Regions from separate parts of the Homo sapiens genome. Here regions 1 and 3 are each linked to region 2. The links are contacts of gene promoters, found by promoter capture Hi-C in human tissues and cell types (Jung and others, 2019). All regions are on one chromosome and are shown on one strand. The core of a region is centred on a gene start or on the middle of the fragment in contact, and the rest is flanking DNA. Distances in the headings are between cores, read along the strand shown.

Region 1 (3,235 bases), core at 563-3,062, 130 kb before region 2:
CCAGACCAGGGCTTTCCAGGTACTGAGGTGGGAGTGTGGAAGGCTGGAGGCAAGATTATAAAGGCAACACGAAGGGCCCATGCGGGTGGAACCGTCTCTCACCTTGGCTGTGGTGGTAGGTCCGTGAACGGAGTCGTGATAAAATGGAACAGAAAAATATACACACAGGAATACAAGTGGAAGTGAGGATGCCAGTGGACTGTGTTGGTTTTGGCATCCTGGCTGTGTTACCCCTGGGGGAGACTGGGCTAAGGGTACATGTCACAACTGCATGGGAATCTACAATGATCTCAGGAAGAGTTCCGATGAAAAAGAATGAAACTCCTAGCCCAGAGCCCCAAACCACAACTCCTCCATCTCTGTCTCCGGCCAGCCTTCTGAGCTGCCCGTGCATGGAGCTGCGGTGCCCAGAGCATCGTGTGCCAGTCGCCTAAGCGTTCCACTTTTCCCTTTTACTGCTGTTTGAAATGGTTCTTCTGTTGAGACTCACACATTCCTAGAAGTTAAAGCATGCTGCTTGACTCAAGCGATTTGGCTTTCCCCATGGCTTCCTAAGCACAGCTGAGCTGGAGGCGTGCTCCGAGGCATCACAGCATCCCCTGGGGACGGGGACTCTGGCCGGTCACAAAACCAGCCTGCTTCCCCGAGGCCCAGCGTGCACACCATCTATATGGACCACAGGAGCTGCCACAGCTTCAGCGGGCAGCACGGACCCCGCCCACAGGTGAGCAGGCAGAAAGGCAGAAGCTGAAATGAGAATTGGCTGAGAAAACCCACAGGGGTGGGACGGGAGAGGCCGGGCGGCCAACCCAGCCACAAACACAGAGCCAGGAGACCCAGTTCCCAGCCGCAGCCCTGCTCTCCTTCTGTGCTGTGCTCTCGAGTATGAGATGGGATGCACTTTTGGGATAAAGAACAGAGACCATGGCTTGAGCCTCTCCAAACAGGCACCAGTTCCCCAGTATGTACCTTGTGTGGATGCTGGAAGGAGACCTGGAAGCGCAGAACTCTCAGCATGAGAAGCTCACACTGCACGATGCTGTCCCGGAGTTCCCAGAAGCGGGAGTCCAATTCCAGGGGCTCACCGCTTGGGTTAAAGTACCTGCGCAGAGAAATGGCAATGCTTCAGCAGCCAGGGCAGTCTCCTGAGCACTGGATGGCTCAAATTGCTTAAGTCACACAATGTCCAGATGCAAACTACATCGTCCATCTGCAGATTCATGGAGGGTCATTTTATTTGGGTTTTTATACAAAAATTCTTCATCTCCACATCTAGTGTAGAGAATGAAAACAGTAACCAACAGAGGAAAGAAGCCAGCTCCTAGTTTTAGCCAGATGGGCTGTCCGCTATCATTCAGCAAAATGTCAAGTGCAAAGACTGGCTGTTGGCGATGGCTCCAGAGGAACCGGAAGCTTGAGCATGCCAAGTCGGTTGTGCTTCCTGTTATACTCAGCCCGGCATTAGGGAGTCTTCATCACCTGAGGTGGCAATGCCCGGGGCTCTCACTCTGGGCCCAAGGAACGTATTTTTTTAACTTATTTTTACTTTTTACTTTTTGAGACAGGGTCTTGCTCTGCCTTTCAGGCTGGAGTACAGTGGTGCAGCCACAGCTCACTGCAGCCTTGACCTCCTGGGCTCAAGCGATCCTCCCGCCTCAGCTACCCGAGCAGCTGGAACCACAGGCATGCGCCACCACGCCCGGCTAATTTTTGTATTTTTGGTAGAGACGAGGTTTCACCATGTTGACCAGGCTGGTCTTGAACTCCTGGGCTCAAGCGATCCACCCGCCTCGGCCTCCCAAAGTGCTGGGATCACAGGCGTGAGCCACCACGTCCAGCCATCCAAGGAACATGTTTAAGCCTCTCATGGGAATGATATACTCCAAAAAGTGAACATTTCTCAGTTTTGTATTTCCCAGACCGTCTTTCCCTCGCCTTGGCGAAGACCCTGCATTCTGCCCCAGCAGGAACACACCTGCTTGGGCCGGCTGTGCCATGCCCACGCCACACCCACAGCAGGGCGAGGCTCCTAAGCAACTGGGACCTACCACCTGGCTGGGTCTGCACCCTCCCGCTGCAGGCAAGCTCTTCTGCCTGCAGCCATCCCTGTCTAAGACTTCCACAGAATCTTCTTTGACATGCCTCTCCAAGCTCCCTCTGCTGAAGCCCCGCCTCTGCCCTCCATCCAGCTTTCGAGGCTCCCCATAATCTGGCCCAGCGTTTCTCTCACAGACCCCACTGGCCTCTGACATCAGGCTCCTTCTCACGTTTGCTGCTACTGTTTCTGGCCCTGCCTGGTTCAAGGCCATCCAGGTACTTCCTTCCAAGCTCCATTGCTGGCACCTGGTGGGCAGGGCCCCATAGGAGCCTTCCCTGCCCGTCCCCCCCACCGGGTGGAGATCAGGAGCCCAGCCAAATGCCATTACCTGTTGGACACATTGATGATGTCACGAGTCCGCAGGTGCTGCTCTTCCACTTTGCCGGCCAAGTAAATTGAAGACATGGCAATCAGGTAAGGGTCATAGGCGTCCAGGTTGGTCTCGCAAAAGAACTTATGGTAAATGGTGCAAGCAGTGGCAATGGGAATGGACCGCATCCCTAGCTTGACACCTGCGGAGAGAAAGCAGGCAAGAGAGGACTTCAATCCAGCGCTGGCTCACTGCTCCAGTGAGGGGAGCCATTGGAATGGGCCCTAGCAGGTACAACCCTACTTGGACAAGGCTAAGAACTTCCAGCAGAGCCAGTGGCTCCTGCTGGGTCTCTTACTGGGCTCTCAGACTCTAGTGGGTGACCCAAGCCCCTGGGGATGGTGTTCAAATGCAGACTTCCCCTTTTGTAGGTCTGCGGCTCTGAGATTCTCCACTTCTGACAAGCCCCAGGTCATGCCCATGTCAGGGGTCTATAGACCACGCTCTGGGAAACAAGGGTTCCGAGGACCGCTCAGTTAGCAACTGGCATAGCAGCTTCTGCAAAACCCTGGAAAAGGACTATATGCTGTTGTGTGTCTGGGTTCACCTTAGCAAACAGCTAGCTAGAAGTCGCCCACCCCACAGCTACGACGACAGAAAAGAAACGGCCTCGTGGGTGCCACAAGTCCTGAAGTCACAGTGAAAGATTACACTGAGCACTGGTTTCGTAGTCCACAGGTTAGAAGAGGTGAGCAAAGCAAGCAGCGTGACTGCCAAGAGTAACCACTTGCATTGCAGAGAAAAGGCAATGTTTATGGCCACAGCCA
Region 2 (3,262 bases), core at 763-3,262:
CCTTTGTGTAGAAATCAGATTGTCTGTCCTCTAAAGCTTCCCAGATTAAAGCTCCCCGGGGCCCTCTATCTCTGCACGTCTTGTCAACTGTACGAAGGTGTGGTTTTCTACAAGAATCCTCCTCAGACAGCACTGCATACTTTCTATGGTATCACATCAAAGATAATTTTTCACGAAAAAACGGCTTTTAAAAATACCTGTGGAGATTTGGCCTTATTTGTAATATCGTAATTTAAATAGGGATGTGTTCAGGTATTATACATAATTAAAATTAATCTCCAATTCACTTTTAACAGGTCCTCTGTTCATTAAAAGGGAATATGGCTTCATCCTCCACAGGCTGAGTAATGTTCATGCAGCCACTGCGCAATACCAGTGAGACTAGTTAGGAGGACAAGAGTCACCAAATCAGCAACAACGTGACCCAGTGGTGCAAGTCTTCCGAATCCCACGCTACCATCCCAGCACCCCGTGGACCAAGAGTGGGTGGGAGGGCATCATTTCCAGAACTGTAACATAGATCTTCCTGCCTCTCGGGGGCATTCTGAAGACCAGAAGGCAGGGGACACAGGAAAAGGAACTGAGCAAGTCATGACGAAGCAGAACCCTGGGAAGGGTTGGCAATAACAAACACAACCCCTGCCACCCCCACCCCAGACAGGTTCTACCTGTTCCATCGGGTCCCAATTCCAGGGTCCACCAGCTGCACACACCAGTCCCAGGGCTAGGGCACAGGCACCCTCCTGCCTAACTCGCCTGCTTGCTCCATAGGCCATACCTTTTAGGAGAAATGAAGGGAATGCAGAGAAGCAACACAACAAAGACCTCCGCATAGAGGAAGGTGGCAACTGCAGTCCACTGCAGACTCATCCTGTTGCTAGAAGGTTTCCCACAGGAAGATGTGAGCTTGTTTCCTGGCAGGGCACAAAAGGTACGGGACTTGTAAGCGCTGGGCAGCCAAGAACATCCAGTTCAGTTACCCTGCGAGGCTGGGGCCGCCACTCTCCACCCTGACCCCCTGCACTTTGCTTCAAAGTCTCTGATGCGCTGGCGGAAGCAGGGCTCCACTCGGCAGGGCCTCTTGGCCAGCAGCGTTCACAGGCCCCACAAACTTCCGTTCGCTGGTCAATTACCTGCCCCCTCCAGCACGTGTGTCAACACGTCCAGAGCGGCCTCTCCCGACGATCCCTGCCCCAGGAAGCCCGAGATTTCCGACGCCCGTTTAACTGAAAGGCGTTCTTCGGGAAGAGCAGTGCCAGGGCACCAAGAGGAGGACGCCTCGGCACCCATCGGGCGCTCCCTTCCCCGCCAGGCAGAACTCAGCCGCAGAGGCGGGCGCTCTGCGGGCCCAAATCCCCGCTACCAGGCAGGCCCAAGGCCGCACCTAGTCCAAGCGCTGCCGACGCCCCCGCCTCCCACCGTCCCCACGGCGCCCGCGGAGAGAAACCGGCACCTCCCTCGAGGATCCAGCGGCCTTCCGCCCGGGGCCGCTTCGCCTCCGGTGGGCTGGAGGCCCGCAAGAGCGACTCCTAGAGGGCAGGATTCGGGACCAAGCGCAAAGGCAGGTCTCGACCAAGCACCTCAAGGCCCCATACGGAGAAAGTTCTAGACGCAGTATCCTCAGAAGCCAGGGGTCCTTACAGTAGCCCTCGCGGGCCCCAGCGCCCACCCAGAGCGAGGGGCCTCCGACTTGGCCCCGGCCTGGCACACCGTCCCGGAGGCCCATCCCGGCCGCTCCTCCAGGTGGGGCTTCACCGCCCCCCGCCCCGCCCCCGAGACCAGCTTCTAGAGGCGCCGCCCGGTTTCCCCTCGCCCCTGCCTCTCACACGCAGGTAGGCTGCGGGCCCCGAGATTCCCCGGCCCCCGGGCCTCCCCGCGCCGCTCGCCTCTCTCCCTCGTCGATGGGCCGGGGAGCCTCCGCGGTCCCGGAGCCCAGCCCGGCGCGCGGAGCCCGCTCACCGAGTTTCCCACAGTCAACGTGCAGGCCCCGCCGCAGCAACAGAACTCTCCCACAGCAGCCCCGGCCCCGCCCCTCATACCGCGGCCGGAAACCGGAAGCGCCCGCCGGGCACCGCCCACCAGCCCTCGCGAGGCCCCGGAGGCTCCGCCCACCTCCGCTTCCCACCCCGCCCCGGAGCGGAGGGCCGGCGCTCCGAGCGGGAGAGGAAGAGGCGCCTCGGGCTCCGGGCGAGCAGGGCGGGGTGGAGCGAGCACGCGGGCGGGGCGGGGCGGGGCTTTGTCGGGCCGGCGAGGGCCGCTTCTCTAGTCCGCGCGGCCGTCCCACGTCTCTGTGGTGCGGGAGGGGCCCCGCCGAGGGGCGAGAACGGGAGGTGGGGGTGTGGGCGGGCCCCGCCGAGGGGCGAGAACAGGGTGGGGCTCCCGCGCCCGGACTCCGCCCCTCGCCCCTCCTCCGCCTCCTCCCCTTCCCCCGACTCGCCCCTGGGGAAGAGTGGGTGGGGATTCTGGGCCGGTGGAGGAGTCACTGTCGCTTCAGCCAGGCTGCGGAGCGGACGGACGCGCCTGGTGCCCCGGGGAGGGGCGCCACCGGGGGAGGAGGAGGAGGAGAAGGTGGAGAGGAAGAGACGCCCCCTCTGCCCGAGACCTCTCAAGGCCCTGACCTCAGGGGCCAGGGCACTGACAGGACAGGAGAGCCAAGTTCCTCCACTTGGGCTGCCCGAAGAGGCCGCGACCCTGGAGGGCCCTGAGCCCACCGCACCAGGGGCCCCAGCACCACCCCGGGGGCCTAAAGCGACAGTCTCAGGGGCCATCGCAAGGTTTCCAGTTGCCTAGACAACAGGCCCAGGGTCAGAGCAACAATCCTTCCAGCCACCTGCCTCAACTGCTGCCCCAGGCACCAGCCCCAGTCCCTACGCGGCAGCCAGCCCAGGTGACATGCCGGTGCTCTCCAGGCCCCGGCCCTGGCGGGGGAACACGCTGAAGCGCACGGCCGTGCTCCTGGCCCTCGCGGCCTATGGAGCCCACAAAGTCTACCCCTTGGTGCGCCAGTGCCTGGCCCCGGCCAGGGGTCTTCAGGCGCCCGCCGGGGAGCCCACGCAGGAGGCCTCCGGGGTCGCGGCGGCCAAAGCTGGCATGAACCGGGTATTCCTGCAGCGGCTCCTGTGGCTCCTGCGGCTGCTGTTCCCCCGGGTCCTGTGCCGGGAGACGGGGCTGCTGGCCCTGCACTCGGCCGCCTTGGTGAGCCGCACCTTCCTGTCGGTGTATGTGGCCCGCCTGGACGGAAGGCTGGCCCGCTGCATCGTCC
Region 3 (3,181 bases), core at 543-3,042, 250 kb before region 2:
AGCCCAGCTAATGGGAACCAGATGGCAGGATGTTTAGTCAGCGCCTGGGGAGCGGCGCAAACAGGGGAAATGGGTAGGGGGCCAGGATTCCAGAATCCATCCCCAGGCAGGGGGAGGGGCGGAGCCGGGGTTCCCATCACCGTCCAGTCTCCCGACCCCAGGTGCTAGGCTCAGCTCAGGCAGGGACCTACCCCGTTTCTCAGGCGATGCCTGGACCAGGAGGCAGGAGGACTGGCCTCTGGTATCGAGACTTGGGTGAGCCCCACTCCTTCTCTGTTCCTTCTCTGTAAAATGGGGGGTCGACTGTGCTCTGTCTTGCAGGATCCTGGGGCAAGCTTCACTTAGTCTTGGCAGCATACTTCAAGTCTGCCGTGCCCCAGTGCTACCCTGTCCCAGCTTCGGCAGCTGCCCCCAGGCAGGACACTGGCCCACAGCCATCCTGTGTCACCCACAGGACGCACAAGGAGATGGTGGCCTCATCCCTGACTCCAGAGGCATTTGCTGACTCCCTAGATGGTCCCTGTTTCTGGTCTGTACGTGGCAGGGTCCAAATTCAGGTCAGAAACCAGAGCCCTGGATGGCGAGGGTACCCTGGATATAGCAGAGGACCCCATGTGGCTCCTACGGGACTGTTAGCTGGAGCGGCAGCTCCTCAAGGAGCCCAGTGAAGACCCAGTTGCCAGGCCTCCTCCCCACCTTGACCAGCCCTGCACCCCTCTGGATCTCACACATTGCCTCATTGCCCCAGGATGGAGACTCCTGCCTGATGGCCCTTGCCGGCCCCTGCCCCTCCTCCACTGCTTCCCTTCTCCCCTCCACCCAAGCCTTGCCCACAATTAACTCATTTCTTAAGATCGCTTCCAAACCTAAGTCAACGCTGGACAGGGCTGTAGGAAAAGCTTCCTCAATACTGGCCCTGAAGAGCCGAGCCAGCGGTGAGATCAGTCCTCTCTGCCAGCCCCCGCCTGCCTGCTCCCACAAACCCTGGCTCCCACAGCAGAACGCGGGGTTGGGGCTGCAGGGACACCCCAGTTGGAGCAGGGACTTCCGGCAGCCCTCTGAGGGTGGCGGGCTCTAGGAACTGGAGCCAGACACCCCCTTATTTGCCCCTCACTCCACCACACGCCCCTCTGGCCCCACCCAGCAGTCCCCTCATCGAGCCCAGCCTATTTTCCACCTCATGTCATCCTGACCCACAGGTGCCCCTCTGACCAAAAGGATGCGTGCAGCCTAGGCACATCAGAGATCCCAGACTGTTGGCCAAGAAGTCTGGGGGGGACCTGTGACATGGCTTCACCCAGGCAGTGCCTGGAACACCCATGCTCCTATGTAGGGGGTCGGGACAGCCACAGAACGTCAACTCTGCCCCCTACCCCATTTTACAGAGGAGAAGGTAGAGACCTGGAGGGCAAGCAGAGGAACCAGGAGCCAGCCCAGCCCGAGGCACACCCATGCCCAAGCAGCACTGGGGTCTCAGGCACGGGAGGCATACCCTCGCCGCCTGCACTGTGCCCACAGATTCTATTTCCTCTGGAACCCGGAGGCCTCCACAGTGCTGCCCACGGCAGAAGCCCACGGCCTTGGCACCCACCCCCTCTCCTTTCGCAGCCATGGATGCAGGGCCCAGCAGCCTGCGGTGGCCGACCCGCTCTGTGGTGGGCCTCTCAGGCCTGCCACGTGTGAGACAGAAGCCCCATTCATGGAGGCCACTGGGCCAGAGCCAGCGGAGAATCAATGCGGGCCTCACAGCAAAAGGGCAGGACCGTCCGGTCTGAGGAAAGGGCAATCTGTCTTTCTCTTCAGGTGGGAGCAGTGCACGTTGTGGGGAGTTGGGGGCAAGGTCGGGGGAGGCGTTTGCTCGACAGAAGGGGGGCCTTCCCAGGGAAGGGCTGGGGTGGGCAGGGAAGACTCCAAGTGCCGCAGCCAGGGCCAGGAGCTCAGGGAGCAAGACCAACTTGTGCCGTCCGCCATCGTCCTGCCGTGGCCACCACCGTGCCTCTCCCAGCTCTCCTTCCCTCCATGGCAGCCAAGAGGAGTGTGCTGCTCCCCATCCTGGCACTGTGGGCGGGGAGCTGCTCAGGAGGGGCCCCACCAACCCCCATGGGCTTGGCTACCCTGCAGCTGCTGCCCAGCCCACCAGGGGCCCCCGACGGTGAGTAGCTGGCACCAGCAGGAAGAAGACTGCCGCAGGCTGTCCACCTCAGGCCCACTTTGGGTACTCAGGCAGGGCTGCAAAGGGCCCATGGCCCTGAGAGAGCCCTCCCTGGAGGGCGAGGGGTGTGCGCAGACTCTAGGGGCGAGGGAGGGAAGAGGCCTTCCTAGGAGCGGGCGCTACAGTGAGGCTGAGAGCGGGCTGGGGTGTGCTGGGGAGGAGTTGCTCTGGCTGCCCCAGTGCCTCCTGAGACAGGAAGAATCTCAGGTGGCTGGGAGTATAGGGCTTGGGGGTGAAGTGGGGTTGCTGGCAGAGAGGGGCTTGAGGGGCCCGAGGACATGGGCTATGAGTGTGGCCTTTGTCTTATAGGCCAGTGGTTGTAGCCACACTTGGTGGCCCTGCCCCAGGCTTGGGGGTAGGGCGGGAGGGGCCAGGTGGGTGGGTCTGCCCCTCACCCCTGCAGACAGAGCGGTGCCCCCCATGGTTGGCCCTGGTTAAGGAGGAGCTGCTCCATAGAGGACAGGAGGCATTGGGGTTATCAACATTCCTCCAAAGTGGCTCACAGACCCCTTGAGGTGGCCCCTGGGCTTGCCTAATCCCCAACAAACCCCCTGTAGCAGACACTGGGGCTTTCACTTCTAAAAGCAAATTGTGCCAGGTCGCAGCGACCCCTTCATCTCCCCAGAAGCTGTCCCTAGGAAGCACGTGTGAAGTCCTTGCTCACTAATGGGTATGGGGCAAAGGGGATGCTGGGGAAACGCCCTACCCCCCACCCTTGGGACACACTGGGGAAGTGAGGGGAGGTGGGACCCAAGGTCCCTTGAGCAGCCCAAGGCTTTCTACCCAGGGCTGCTGAAGCTCCCTGGGCCCAACCACCGGTCCAACCCCTGGGCCTAACCTATAGGCCCAGCCCCTTAGCCCTAATGGGCCTAGAGCGCCACCCACCCCCCTCCCCAGCAGTGAGGAGCTGTGTAAGTTCTGAGAGGTACTCTGGGTTACTGGCCCCAGGGGCTGGTGGCCTGCTGCTGA

The links. Contacts are between HindIII fragments. The study calls those that stand out against the background at their distance.
Region 1: a fragment that was not itself captured here is called in contact with the fragment with the promoter of BCAP31 in region 2 in 1 of the 25 tissues and cell types used here (IMR-90 fibroblasts).
Region 3: a fragment that was not itself captured here is called in contact with the fragment with the promoter of BCAP31 in region 2 in 1 of the 25 tissues and cell types used here (pancreas).

The regions. Positions count from the first base shown.
Region 1 is chrX:153,593,578-153,596,812 of GRCh38, forward strand. It overlaps CCNQ (cyclin Q), which reads right to left. Exons shown (of 5, transcript NM_152274.5): 2 at 2,427-2,610; 3 at 970-1,102. Among named protein-coding and RNA genes, the nearest start is that of CCNQ, 3.9 kb to the right of the region's middle. The HindIII fragment of the contact is 4,557 bases long and covers 1-3,235 here.
Region 2 is chrX:153,722,375-153,725,636 of GRCh38, forward strand. It overlaps BCAP31 (B cell receptor associated protein 31), which reads right to left and starts at 2,013. Exons shown (of 8, transcript NM_001256447.2): 1 at 1,960-2,013; 2 at 779-914. The coding sequence starts at 870. It overlaps ABCD1 (ATP binding cassette subfamily D member 1), which reads left to right and starts at 2,482. Exons shown (of 10, transcript NM_000033.4): 1 at 2,482-3,262. The coding sequence starts at 2,893. RefSeq lists silencers at 1,292-1,471, 1,682-2,641 and an enhancer at 3,102-3,262. The HindIII fragment of the contact is 13,330 bases long and covers 1-3,262 here.
Region 3 is chrX:153,477,235-153,480,415 of GRCh38, forward strand. It overlaps a transcript of HAUS7 not described here and the pseudogene ECMXP. Among named protein-coding and RNA genes, the nearest start is that of HAUS7, 8.2 kb to the left of the region's middle. RefSeq lists an enhancer at 1-477. The HindIII fragment of the contact is 3,794 bases long and covers 1-3,181 here.